Regions from separate parts of the Homo sapiens genome. Here region 1 is linked to region 2. The links are contacts of gene promoters, found by promoter capture Hi-C in blood cells and fetal thymus (Javierre and others, 2016). All regions are on one chromosome and are shown on one strand. The core of a region is centred on a gene start or on the middle of the fragment in contact, and the rest is flanking DNA. Distances in the headings are between cores, read along the strand shown.

Evidence for each region. Contacts are between HindIII fragments. The CHiCAGO score rates a contact against its expected background, and 5 or more counts as called.
Region 1: a fragment that was not itself captured here is called in contact with the fragment with the promoter of KCNK5 in region 2 in 1 of 17 cell types (activated CD4 T cells); the score reaches 5.1 in activated CD4 T cells.

Annotation. Positions count from the first base shown.
Region 1 is chr6:38,973,499-38,980,346 of GRCh38, reverse strand. DNAH8 (dynein axonemal heavy chain 8) reads right to left here. Exons shown (of 93, transcript NM_001206927.2): 84 at 6,534-6,686; 85 at 5,818-5,973. Among named protein-coding and RNA genes, the nearest start is that of DNAH8-AS1, 24 kb to the right of the region's middle. The HindIII fragment of the contact is 4,360 bases long and covers 2,808-6,848 here.
Region 2 is chr6:39,226,307-39,233,656 of GRCh38, reverse strand. KCNK5 (potassium two pore domain channel subfamily K member 5) reads left to right here and starts at 4,182. Exons shown (of 5, transcript NM_003740.4): 1 at 4,182-4,731. The coding sequence starts at 4,546. RefSeq lists an enhancer at 2,877-3,604 and silencers at 3,892-4,241, 4,342-4,421, 5,435-5,504. The HindIII fragment of the contact is 7,595 bases long and covers 1-6,175 here.

The sequences.
Region 1 (6,848 bases), core at 3,738-6,237, 250 kb after region 2:
CATGTTGCCTTGGTTTTTGTTTTGTGGGTTTTTTAAGATGTTTCATATTGATATATGTGGTCCTGTAACCAGATTTTGAGTCTTGACAGTGAAAAACACGTCTTCTATTTTTGTCTCCCCTTTTGCACCTTGGGGGAAAGAATCATGGTTGCCTAATAAACACTGGTCGATTATTACCAGGGCAAAAGGAACCCTTTCTCTGTAAGAGGTCAATGCTGAGGCTCACCCAGTGTTTGGAATTTCTGAAGTGGACTCAGAAACATTGAGGTGAGCCTCTTCCAGATTATACCAGGAGCAAGGGTGGGTGGAGAGGGTTATGGGATATTAACATGAAAATTCATACAGCTAACCGTTTTAGTTCTTGGAATTTCTTCCATCTTGAGGACTTTGAAGAGAAGAATGCTAATGACTTATTAGTGAAATGTGAATGTTTTCCCATTTTTGAAAAAGAGGATCAGAATTTATACCATTAGTTTTACCTATGTGTTTGATTTAATTTTTAAATTTTAATGTTCAATTAGATGGGTGGCCAAATGAAAAATAACTCCAATTACTAAAGCTGCTCAAATTGACTCTATGGAAACACTCCTATTTATATGCACTGAGCAACTGCAATTTAGTTGTTCTTTAAAATGTGAGTTTTGAAAATTGCCCTAATGCTGAGATTTGCTTCATGTTTATATTTCTTACTACCAATTTTCATCTAAAGCATTTACTTTTTAAGTTGGTTCACTAAAGTCATAAACTGATTAGCTCATCTTGGGAAAAAAAGCCCAAAATCTTAGTGGGTGCCTTTTCTTTCACAAATGAAGTCATTTCATCTTCTTGCTATTTTTTTAAATTACCTTGGAATACTATCAGGATAGACTCAAACAACTAGAACCTAAGAACTCATTTGGAAGATCAAAGCAAGGGGTTTTGCTGGACTTATTTGGAATATTGAATTTCTTCAGTTTAATTAACATTTTTGAAACCATGGGATGAGTCCTATGCAATACAATAAAAAATATCAAAAAGGATGCATTTTCAAGAAGTTTTAATCTGTTGCAAAAATAAGACTTGGAGACAAGAAAAAGAATAATGGGATAGTGAATATAATTAACTGTCAAAATTTCACAATGATAAGCCTGAAGGAGACGTTCAATCAGAGGCTTCTGGGAAGAATAAAACTGAAGCTGGTCTTTACAAGGAGGAGAGAAGAGACTTCCAGGCTTGGCAAAGGCCATGAGCAAAACTAGGAACACAAATCCTGTGACTTGTGGAGAAAAAGGCTGCAGACAGAAGGTTCTACTGCAGTAGCGGGCTAGTTCTGGTGAGTAGCAGCAACTCAGTGGTCACGTGCTTCAAGACATGGAATGCAGACAAATTTGAATGTTAAAACTTCATTCGACAGAAGGGAGAGGACTGTCCATCATTAAGATGGTGACTGATGATTTTAGGAAAACCAGTCCACTCCCTACTTAATTTGATTAATACAGTTTCTTCTTTTCATTTCACAGAATATACAAAACTCTGAACTACTAGAGAAATATGGAAAATGTGGAATCATGAAAAACTCCTTAGAACACTGATGAAAAGTTGTTCAATCATTTTAATGATGTCAGAGCCATTTCCAATTTTACGTTAGGTTCTACCTCAGCAGTTCCCACAGAGCTGCAGAATCATTTCACAGCTTCAAAACCAGACAACTGGAGTTAACTGTCTAACTCCAATAACTGGAGCTAATATACAAAGAAAAATACAAGCCACACTAGACAATGTAAGGGAAACTTTACTAGGTAAAAATAGTTGACAGAAGCAGCCAGAACCTCTGGGAAACACTATGGGGCAGAGTGTAAAAGATAAACCAGTATCATATTACCATAATCATTCAAAGACATTTAAATGAGGAATTTTATAACCATCTCTCCCCAAAGCAAGAACTTTATATGCACTATTAAATTTGAAAGGAATGTTTATCAAGGCTCAAACTTGAGAAAGAAAACGAAATGTAGGGGAAGCAAACACTTTTCCGAATGAAGAACTGTTAATAGTGAGATTCCCTGGGCCCTATTGATAGGGCCCCTTTTATTTACTATCTAAGTAATTTTTAAGGGCCACGATAGAATTTCCAAGTTTGCAACTGCCACTATAGGCCCTTAGAGATCCTAATCAATAACTTTAGCTAAAAAAGAAAAATGAAAAAGAAAAGAGCACCTCACCTCACAGAGTTATATATAAGCTGTTTGAAAAGTCATAAAGAAATACGCAGTTCAATGTGGACAAACCAAGGTGATGGGGAGAAAAACTCCAGACTATGAAATGGATGTAAAAGTGGTTCAAGACTCTTCCCTTAAGGGTTGTGGCCATTTGGCCATTATTTTCAATTCTTGCCACATATCAGGATCACTTGGAAGTTTTTAAAAAGACTGAGCTCCTTCCTTTTGGCCTCCTGGGGATTTTGACTTAAGTGTCCTGTTCTGGGGCCCAGGCATTGGCTGAGAAGACAATTGTAGATAATTGGCTGAGAAGACCACTTAAGACATTTACTCGGTCCAATACACACCTCAAAGAGTGGCACATTGACAATCAATAGGAAAAAAATAACCCATAGAACATTATTCTGATCTTCTGCAGGAGGTGTTAGGAAGTGGCTAAAAATGTAATGATTGAGTTTCAAAAGACTAAGACTTTGGAGGAAAATGTGCTTAAAATTAAAATCCCAAAGGGTGAATGTGGGCTTGCTCTCAAGCCCAGAACGATGCTACACTGGATGCTACACCACCCAGGAAAGCACAGAGACAGAATACCGAGGCCAGAGAGAAGCTTCCCTCCTAAGTAATCTTCAAGAGGATGCTGAAACATTCTCAGGGAGTGGCAGCCAAACCGAGCCCAGGCACACACCAGGGTCCTGGGAATAAAAGGCTCCCATAAGGAAGGCAGAAGGGCCACTGGCAAAAGCAGAGACATCACTGGACTGCAGCAGGGGTGGGGGCTTCAGCAGTAACTTCCCCTCTCAGGGTAGCTGCTACTGCTCTGTGTGGATAGTAAGTTGCTGGAGGAGAAGGGGAGTGGCAGGGAGCAGAGCTTAGTGCGGCGTTGCCTCGTGCATCTATGCATGTTCCCATGGCAGCACCCAGGGCACCCTCCTCCTGGGAAAGCCTGCTCCCACCTCAAGAATAAAGCAAACCACGCCCTCCACCACTCTTCTGCCCAAGTTATCCTTGACCAGCCAAATTTACTTCCCCTTCTCCCAGAAAAGGAGAGGTGCTCATTTTGTTCCCTGCAACTGAAGTAGAATCCACATATCATGCCTATGAACTGGGGTAAGCTGATGGCATAATGCCACCCAAACCAGGATTCCAAGGGAGAATTTACATTTTTTACTGGAGAGCAGGCAGGGAGTTGGCTATTTTACTCCTGGGTTCTGCATTGTAATGTGGGATGAACTCCAGCATGAACCCCTCTGGAGCTTCAGATCCTGTGCCTAATTCTTTTTTCAGTCTGTCTCTGCAAGAACAAAAGTACATATAACATGTTTGTTTAAAGCAACGGATACCTGTTTTAATTTGGAGGACTCAATTAATCAATTAACAAATCAGATGTTTGGCTCTTATACTCAACACTAGAGAGAGAAAAGAAACGTAAGTCACAAACAATCTAATCCACAACATTCCTTCCTATAGCAGTTGAGTCTCAGACATTCAGGTGCATACAAATCATGTAGGTATCTTGGTACAATGCAGACTGATTTAGGAGAGTCTGAGGCGAGATCTGACATGCACCTCCAACAAGCTCCCAAGTGATGTTGATGCTTCTGGCCCAAGACAACAAGTCTCTGAAGAATTTTGGATTTTTCTATCAAGCTGTCCCTATCCTAACCAAGTAAAAAAAATATTTACACAAAATCACAGCAAACACTTCTGTGATATTTCTGAAACATATGTCTAAAATTCCCAGGAGATTTTGGAAATATCACAGTAAACACTTCTGAAATTGATGAAAAAGAATTACCTACACTCACTGTATTGTCACAGAATTGGGCGATGGAATTTTAGAAATTGAAAAAAACCTTGAAAGATCACCTACTTCTGCCTCTAACTGCACAGATGGGGAAACAGAAGCCCTGAGAGAGACATAACTTGATCAACTAACTGCTTTCAGCTAACTGATTTCACAGCAAGCACGAAAGTCCAGGCCTCCTGACTCTTAGTGAAGTGTTATTTCTAGCCCTCTATTATTTGATTTTAAGAGATATTCAGCCTTTTATTCCTGGACACTCCACTGGTAACTTCACCGCCCTAGCAGTGAAAATATTTTTCCTCCGTTTTAACCCAAACACATGTGGTGTTAAGTGCAAGGGCACTTTAGCCCCATGGCTGGACCATGGTCCTGTTGCTCTTCTTCCCTTTAGCACTTGGATAATGGCCACTAAAAACACAGGTTGCCACATTAACCATATGGCAAATACCCCCAACCAGCTCTCCATGATAAGCACAGTGGAAGAGTTGAATCATCACTACTGGGAACACAATCATAAAATATTATTTGTGAATTGGGAATGAAATAGCAGAGTTAAAGCAATATTTGTATTAGGATGTGATAAGGTCTAGCAAAGCGAACAATTCCCAGATAAGAATGTATGAAATAGGCTTCTGTGACTTGAAAGCTGTAATTGACAATCCAAAGGCCACAATGGAACTTAGTAAAGATAACCACCAGCAAAGCATTTAATCTGATTTTAACTTTCTCAGTGTTGGGAGGCAGACAAACACCACATCCCTCTCCTGGGCAGCCAGGAACCTAGTAAAGTGGTAGGGATAATGAATTAGGGGTAAATACACACAGTATTTTCTGGGATGAGCATTAAGTTCCCCTCCATCTTTGGACAGGGCAGGGAGAGGTAATGTGAAGTTCTGCCCATCACTGTACACAGCTAAAAGCCTGACTCCTGGGATAGACCAACTGATTTATTTTGTCCTTCACCCCAACCCCAGGAAAGAAAGAACTCCAGGTAGGGCTTAAAGGAATCTCTTCAATTCTCTGTGAAATCAAGGAATGGATCCAGTGCATTGAAAATGTATAGCTTTTGAATTACAGAACAAAATATAAAATTCAGATGCAGAACAAAACACTAACAATAATTTAAAAAATCGTAACAGACAAGTTGCTTGGTAATCATAAAATTATTAAATTACTGCGTCAGTACTAAGACTGTAAAAGCAAACAGCAAATGACTTGAGAAAGACAGGGAGCTGCTGTTCCTCCTCCTCCTCCAACATCACCACCACTTTTACTATCAGGTAATAAATAGAGTCAAAACAATACATAAATCAGAGCCAGCCAATCCTAGTTCAGCCAATCCTAGCAACCACATTTGAAGAGTACTTAACATCTTTGGGATGGTGATAATCCTATCTTGAAATGTGGTTGTTAGTATTACAGGAGATGGTGCACATAAAATTCTTGGCCAGCACAGGCACTTTCAAAACCAAGCTCCTATCTTTATAATCCATTAGCTCATTCTACAAATATTTATTGAGCTCTGACAATCCCCTGCGTGCTGTTGTGACAGTAGGAGAGTCAGCAGTTACGAAAAGACAGTCTTCACCCTGGAGAATCTTACATTCCAATAGTCAGGGTTGGGGGTTGGGGCAGGGGGCACACACAAAATACATAAACAAATATACACTATACCAGGTGGGGAAAGTGCTATGAAGGAAAAGAGAGTAAGGAGACAGAGCGGCAACGGATAGCACCCTCCTGGAAGCCTCTCCAATGGGGCCTCAGCACACCACTGGCCATCTCCTAAATGTGAAAACTGCTTTCTGCAGTTACCTGCACAGTGGAGTGTAAAAATGCTACTGTGTAAAGCATCGGCTTCCACATGGGTAAATTACTGATGTCCAGAAGGTCTTGATTAATTCCAGCAAATGTTCTTTTCAAACCTGCGCGTACACCTTGGGGTGGCTCATTAGTGAATTTGAGAGAGGTCTGTCATGAAAAGAAAACAGTGCTTTTGTTTCTATAAATTACTATAAAGAATAAAATAGAAATTACAATATTAGGCTGAATATCCTTTATCTGAAATGCTTGGGACTGGAAGTGTTTTGAATTTCAGATTTTGGAATATTAGCATTAAATTGTTATATGAGCATTGCCTTTGAGCATTCTATTGGCATTGAGAATGTTTCAGATTTTGGAGCATTTCGGGTTTCGATTTTCAGATTTAGGATGCTCAACCTGTATATCAGAAAACAATATGCTTATGGTACATAAAGTGGGGGCAAAGTTCAGCATTGTATAAACTAAGTACATTGATCAGAGCTGAAACTCAATAAATTAGTACTAAGTCTTAGAGCTCTTCTATGGAAATATTTACTACAGTCTAACCTTGATGTCAAGATTTTGATGATTATAGTATTATAGTATAAGATCTTGCAGTCCAGACCCTACAGGACCAAAAAGCCCTGTTGTGTTCCCATCTTTCAACAATGTCAATGATGTCATCTTTATTACTATGACTCTCGATGAAAAGACGTTTAGTAACAAACCTGAAGCAATGTAATTGGAAATCGATCATGGGGCTCCGTAGTTATCCATACTCGGAAAGAATCATCACTGGCTTCAGTGGTAATTAGCGTCTCTAGTAATTCTTCCATGAATTCCAGGCCAAGGTGGCAATTTTGTAGTAATACCCAACCACCCTGTATCCAAAAATAAGTTCATATTTATTTCTTGTAACCTTTTTGCTATGATTTTAATAAAACAAAATGTGCACTTTTTTTAAAAACCATGTGAATACTCTGTTTTGAACACATTTTTAAAAATTATATGTCAATACAATCATTTCTCCTGCTATGGTACAA
Region 2 (7,350 bases), core at 2,933-5,432:
CATGGCCCATGACACAGCCCCAGGAGATCTTGAGAACATGTGTCCAGCGTTATCAGAGTACAGCTTGTTTTTATACATTTTAGGTTATAGGTGAATTCGAAGATTTTCTGATTGGTAGCTGGTTGAGTTTATCTAAAGACCTGAAATCCGTAGGAGGAAATGTCTGGGTTAAGATAAGGGGTTGTAAAGACAAGGTTCTTATTATGCAGGTGAAGCCTTCAGGTAGCAGGCTTCAGAGAGAATAGATTATAAATGTTCGTTATCCAACTTACAAAGGTGCCAGACGACCCCGGGAGCGCAGGGAGCGCTCCTGCAGGAGCATTTCAAAATAGGCCAAATGAATATATTTTGGGGTAAAATACTTCGATTTCTCTCAGGGCCTGCTGTCATGATTCTTATTGCTACAAAGAGTCTGTACTGTCAGTCTTAAGGTCTCTGTTTTTTGGGTTTTTGTTTTTTTTTTTTATTGAGATGGAGTCTCTATCATCCAGGCTGGAGTGCAATGGTGCCATCTCGGCTCACTGCAACCTCTGCCTCCCGGGTTCAAGCAATTCTAATGCCTCAGCCTGCTGAGTAGCTGCGATTACAGACATAAGCCACTACGCCCAGCTAATTTTTGTAGTTTTAGTAGAGACAGGGTTTCACCATGTTGGCCAGGTTGTGCCTTAAGGTCTCTGTTTTAATATTAATGCTGGTCAGCTGTGCCTGAATTCCAAAGGGAGGAAGTTATAAGGAGGCATGTCGGCTGGGCGCTTTGGATCACACCTGTAATCCCAGTGCTATGGGAGGCCAAGGTGGGCAGATCAGTTGATGTCAGGAGTTTGAGGCCAGCCTGGCCAGCATGGTGAAACCCCATCTCTATTAAATATACAAAAAATTAGCCGGGCGTGGTGGCTCATGCCTGTAGTCCCAGCTACTTGGGAGGCCGAGACATGAGAATTGCTTGAACCCAGGAGGCAGAGGTTGCAGTGGGTTGAGATTGTGCCACTGCACTCCAGCCTGGGTGACAGAGTGCGACGCCCTCTCAAAAAAAAAAAAAGGAGCCATGTCCAACCACCCATTCCATCATGGCCTGAACTAGTGTTTTGTGTTTACTTGAGAATGCCCTTGGTCAAGAGGAAGGGTCCATTTGCTTGCTTGGGAGGGGCCTAGAATTTTATTGTTGGTTTACATTCCTCAGAGCTGATTGCCTTCCAAAAGGTTGCACTCTGAAATTATTATCAACCCTGATCAATAATCATAATACTAAGAACTACACGTATGCTATTGGAATGGATTTATTTATCAGCCCTGTAGGAAAATATATATCTCACATCACCTCATTCCCATTTACCCACTTTTCCCTTTTCCAATCTTAAGGCTCGTGTTGTCTAAATATTCGATAGTTTCAGCACAGTTTACATTTTATAAAAGCCCCCACTGGCTGCTGTGCAGAGAGCAGGTGTGTGCCCCTGATCTACAGAAGGTCAAGTTGATCCAACTATCTGGCTGGGGCAGGGGAGTTGGAGAGGGGAGTGGGGAGATGGGGAGGGGAGGGGAAGTTGGGGGAGGGGAAGCACATTCAACTGGGATGGAGACAAAGGAGAGAGGCAGGAGGAGGGAGAATGAAGAGCTGGGGAAGGAGCTTTGGAAAAATACAGGAAAGCAAAGGATGCGGCGACAGAAGGAGAGGATGAGGAGTCAGTCAGCACCACATGGAGAGCAAGAAGGAAGAAGGGGACAGGAAATGCAGAAACAGAGTGGAAGGACAAAGAAACTACAACATACAGAGGCCTCGAATAAAAATCAATTCATCTCAAAGTGTTCAGCATTTTCATGAGGCTGTGAGACCGAAATAGGAAGAGGCCCTTTATTTTCTTAGGAAGAGAACACAGACCGGAGGTGGGAGAGGAATGGTAGGGAATTTTCCAAACAAAGAGAGGGCCTGTGGCCTCTCAAACTGCCCCCACCCCATGCTCACTGAAGCGTTCACACTGCAGCCCTGAACTCTTCACAAACAGGGTGAACTCCATCCAGAGAGGGGGGATCCGGAACCCATGCTTGGTTTCCATCCCAGCTGGAGGGCTGGAGAATGAGACTGCAGAGCTAGGGTTCAGGCCACAGCCTGGGGGACAGGGTAGGCAGGAGGTCAGCAAGGCTTAGAGAAGATGGATATGTTGGGTTGGGTGAGAGGCCTGGTGCTGGGAGTGGGTTGTCTACAGAGAAGCACCCCCAGGGCCTTGTCCAGGATGATCCTTGGCCAGGGGGGTCCTGAGGGGACTGGCACTGCACACCTCAGGGATGCAGTATCAGGAAATCTGGGGCTCCCCAGCTTCCTGCTCTGGTCTTCTTCTCTGGACACGCTCATGTTGCCATAAGGAGAGACAGAAACATCAGCAAAATCAGATCAATGCTTCCAACTGTATCCCTAACCCCTCCATTCCAGCCAGATTTGGAGATAGTACAGATACCCCCCTCCCCAAGTAAAGTGTCTCTTGACACCTTGGGGTTCAGGCCACAGCCTGGGTACAGGGTGGGTAGGAGGTGAGAAATGACTCCCCTTCTTCTCGATGGAAAGAAAAGGCCTTGGCCAGGGGACAGTGCTCAGGGACTCTGGCCACTCCAGTACCTGCCCCTACAGAGGCCAGAGAAGGGCAGGGCCAGCCCCTGGTACAGAGCACTGAAAGGAGGTTCCCCCTCCAACTTCTGACTGGTGCTGGTTGAAAGACTGAACAAACTAACCCACTGAGCTTTTTTCCTCACTGCAAAGTGGGTCGAATGACAGGGCCTGCTTATGATGCATGGAAGGGATTCAGTACTTCCTGGGGTTTACAAGAGCTCAGAGAATGGCAGCAAGGCGAGTTAGAAACATCCTGGGCACCTGTTTTTAACAAATTCATTCACTCCTTCATTGCACACATGGTTATTGAGTGTCTGCTATGTATGTAACAAGCACTGTGGATACATCATTACACAAGACAGATTCTCCATCTCCCCAGCAGACATTTCCGTGTGTGTGTGTGTGTGTGTGTGTGTGTGTGTGTGTCTGTGTGTGTGTGGCGGGGAGAGGGCACAATACAGAGTAAACAATAAATAAAGTTATATAATATAGCAGAGGGAATTTAGTACTAGGAAGGACATAAAGCCAACGAGGGAGATAAGGTGGCGGGGGTGGAATTTTAAATCAGCTGGAGCATATGTATGAAAGTGGGCCGGGCGCGGTGGCTCACGCCTGTAATCCCAGCACTTTGGGAGGCTGAGGCGGGCGGATCACCTGAGGTCAGGAATTGAGACCAGCCTGGCCAACACGGTGAAACCCCGTCTCTACTAAAAATACAAAAATTAGCTGGGCGTGATGGCGTGCGCCTGTAGTCCCAGCTTCTTGAGAGGCTGAGGCAGAAGAACTGCTTGAACTCGGGAGGCGGGGGTTGCAGTGAGCCGAGATAGTGCCACTGCACTCCAGCCTGGCGACAGAGTGAGACTCCGTCTGAAAGAAAAGAGGAAAGGAGAGGAAAGGAGAAGAGAAAAGAAAAGAGAAAAGAAAAAAAGAAAAGAGGCCAAGTGTTTCCCGTAGAGATACTGTGTATTGGGGGGGCGCACAGGGGTGCCACGAATTGAGCTGCCCACTCCTTCCAGATGCAGGGTTCTCACCCGGGTAGGTGAGAACGGGGTGAGGGGGAGGAATCACGCGTGGGTGGCTGGATTAGTTCCTGATGTCCTCTGATTCCCTACAGCTTCTTCAGCCCCGTTCTAACCCCCTTCCTCAGGCTTACAAGAAAGTGTGTGGAAGAGAGACACGGAGAGACTGAGCATTAGACTTTTTTGGAAGAAACATCAGTAAATGAAAATGGAATTACAATAAAAATAACAAAAGCAATAAACTCCTGACCTCAGTCACAATCATTTTAGTTAACACGCCAGTCCTAATAACAAACACGAGTCCCTGAGACCGCAACCCCTCGGGCACCGCAGGGCGTGCAGGTCTGGGCGGGCGGCGCAGCCTCCCCTGGCGGCTGACCCTGGGAGCGCGGGGAGCGCCAAGCCTCTTCTAGCGCTCACCTCGCGCTCACTCCTGCGCTCGCCGGGCTGCTTGTGCGGGGAAGGGGCGGGGCCCGCCTGGGCTCCTCCCCGGTCGGAGCCCGGAGCAAGGGGGCAGAGCGCGCCGGGCGCTGGTTAAAGAGGCGTGCGGAGGCGGGCGCGGCGCATACTGCTAGTGGCGCGCGGAGGAGCGACGCGTGGAGAAGCGGCCCACGTGTCTGCCCAGAGTCAAGTCCTGTGTTCTTCCCGCTCCTTACGCATCCGCGGTCCAGGGCGCCCTTTCAGCCCCGCTGGTGTTCGCCCACCCCGGGCCGCGTGAGTGGGGCCCCACGCAGCTCCCCGCACTCCGTGGGCCAACTTGGCCAAGCAACTCTGTCCGGGGAGCGGTGCTTGCGGGGGGTGAGTACCGGGCACTGCGCATGCGGAGCTCCAAATTCAAACAGCTGTTTTCAGAGGCTGGAGGGCGGGCGGACTGGTAGCAGCTGGGGCTAGGAGAGGCTTTCTCTAGGAGGCGGCCGCTCGGGAGCCATGGTGGACCGGGGCCCTCTGCTCACCTCGGCCATCATCTTCTACCTGGCCATCGGGGCGGCGATCTTCGAAGTGCTGGAGGAGCCACACTGGAAGGAGGCCAAGAAAAACTACTACACACAGAAGCTGCATCTGCTCAAGGAGTTCCCGTGCCTGGGTCAGGAGGGCCTGGACAAGATCCTAGAGGTCAGTCGCCGCCTGTACCCCCATATACATCTGAAGCTGGCTTGAGCTTTAGGGGGCGCTGAAAGGAAGACCCCTTCACAGCTTTGGGTGACCCTCAGTCCCTGTGGAAGGTCCAGGGGGTGATGAGAGAGCGTGTCTCATCATGGGTCAGGCTTCGAGGATCTGTCGCTCACCCGAGGGACACAGGGGTCCCCCAGGCGCGGAGACTCTTTGGAACTTAGTTTGGCCGGAGACAAATTGGAGTTGATTCCCGGGTGAACTAGGCTCCACGGTGTTTCAGTGTGGGTGTGACGGTACCTCCCTCCTTGGGAAGAGGCTGTGGGACGGATAAAGGCGTTTATCTTTCCCTGGAGACGCTCCCGGAGTCTGGGAGCCAAGCCTGGTGCCATCCCCTCGTGTCTCCACCTCCCCGCTCCAGGGCCAGTGCCACGCCTGCCAGGCTTTTCTTAAGGAACGTGAACCCGGCAGAGTGGCGGGAGGGTCCCTCAGCCCGAGCCTGGGCAAAATCTTCCGCCCCCAGCAGAGTTCCGGAGAGGAGCTGGAGGCTCTGTGGGGCCCGAACCCACGGGATGAGGGCTGGTGCCTGGAATGCTGGGGACGCGCTCAGGCTTCCGGGAAGGCTTATCTCGCGGAGACATCCTTCAAGGGCTTGGAGTAAAACTTTGTGAAAGTAGCAGGTTGCACAAACGAATAATACCCGCGTAGTCCCTTTATGATGGGGGAGGAGAGTGTGTGCGGAATTGGGGTGGGTGGGGGACTTCCCTCCGTGCTGACATTGGGAACCGCTTATTTTCTGGTGCACAGCCCGATGGGTGGCATTGACCTCACTTTGGATAAACGGGCTGCCTATCCTGGCTGAGACCTTGGGGCCCATTTGGGGACCGAGGCCCTCTACCCCAGTTTCTCGAGGGCTCAGCTTCAACCATCAACTCTTCTTGGCCTGCTCCCCCAGTGGAATGACCAGGACCTGGGTGAAAGTTCTAGATTGCAGCAGGTAGGGAGTAGGGGTAGATTGTCCAGGGTGTTACCTTGCTCTCAGGGTGAAAGATGCCAGAAAGGAGGTCTGATGAGAAGCAACGTTTAGTCTACAGCAGCACCTCAATACTTTATGCCTATCTAGTCGTCGCTCATTTTCCAGCCTCCGTTTCCCCATGTGAGAAACGGGAATGAGCCCATCCTCATTCCTTATTTCTGCCACGGACTGTTAGGTTGGAAGCATTTGGAAAACATCAAAATCTTGTCCCCAGATTGATGGACATCACACAGATAAGCATATACGTATTTGCTGGCAGCCGTGTGTGGGGAGACTTGTCCTCCAAGGGGTCCTGTAGAAGGGGAGGTTTAGTCTAGCAGGCTTAGTGTTGGATTTTAGTGGAGAGTCTCTTGCCCTGTAGCAGTTTCCCGGGTAGAGGCAGATGGGAGGTGATGGTGGGGAGGATAAGCTTCAGTAGATGGTTGGTTGGTTTACCTCCTAACAGCAAGAGTCCTGGCATGAAGAGTCTACATGGCTTCCTTCTGATGGGCGTCTACCCTGGGGGGTGTGTTGTGGGGAGGGGGTTGCTTTATGATTTCCCTTGAGGAAACAATTCCTCTAGAGAACAAGTTTTTGTTTAGTTTGTTCCAGGGCTTTGTTTAGAGGGGGAAGAGGGCAGGCAAGGATGATAAAGCCTTGAGCTGCCCTCGAAGTGTTTCCCTCTAAGCTGTTGCTCCAACACTGCAGGGGAAGGAAGGAAAGAATTCAAGGCTAAATGTGGGAAAATAAACTTCAAAACACAAGGCAAAGGGAAAGGCTGGCGGGGCATACGGCGGGGGGGGCGGGGTCCAGGGGTTAGGCAGCCGGGTGCAGCTGGTGGTCATAGCTTTGGAGGCTAGACGGCTTCTTAAGGTATTTGAACAAACAAAATGCCTCTTATTTAGCAGTCCTGTTAAATCTGTCAACATTTACCCCCCTACCAAAAAAAAGTAATGGGCAGGTAATTTTTAGAAAAAGGACTTGGGCATCAAGCCAGTCTGCTTTGGAGGCTATTATAGATAAGTTCTTGAACAAGGACAGCCCTGTCCTCATCCCCGGCCAAAGAAACTCCCAAACCAACCCCAACTGGGCGAGTCCCTTCCCGTCATAGGAAAAACCCCAAGAAATGAAAATGGACAAGTAGAAGCATTTGCTGACATCAGTTTTAATCTGCAGAAATCTGCCTTGCTCTGCTTTCTTGTGACTTGGGGTACTGCCTCAGGCCTCAGGATATTGGTTTAAGGAAAAATGAAAACTCAAAAATCTTCTTTCCCATCTGGCTGCTTGGGCATTTTCCACCTGACGCTCTGTGTTTTAGCTGGTTCTGAATCACCTTGGAATCATGAAGGAGCCCCTAGCTAGGAATTCCTGGGGTACAACCAGGGGTGGGACAAAGATTGTTGGAAGAGATGGGGTGCAGTCTGAGTTGGGGTTTCTCTTACCCTGAAAGTTGTGTGTGCTCTTTCAAATGTGTGAGAAAGGGAGTTAAGTCAACTTTCTTTAGAAATACCCCCCGAATTGTCAGATACTTCCTTCCCTCCGCTGTGGTTGAAGTGAGGTGCAGGCTGACTTTCAAGTGCTCAGTGACCCGCCAGCCTGGGACCACG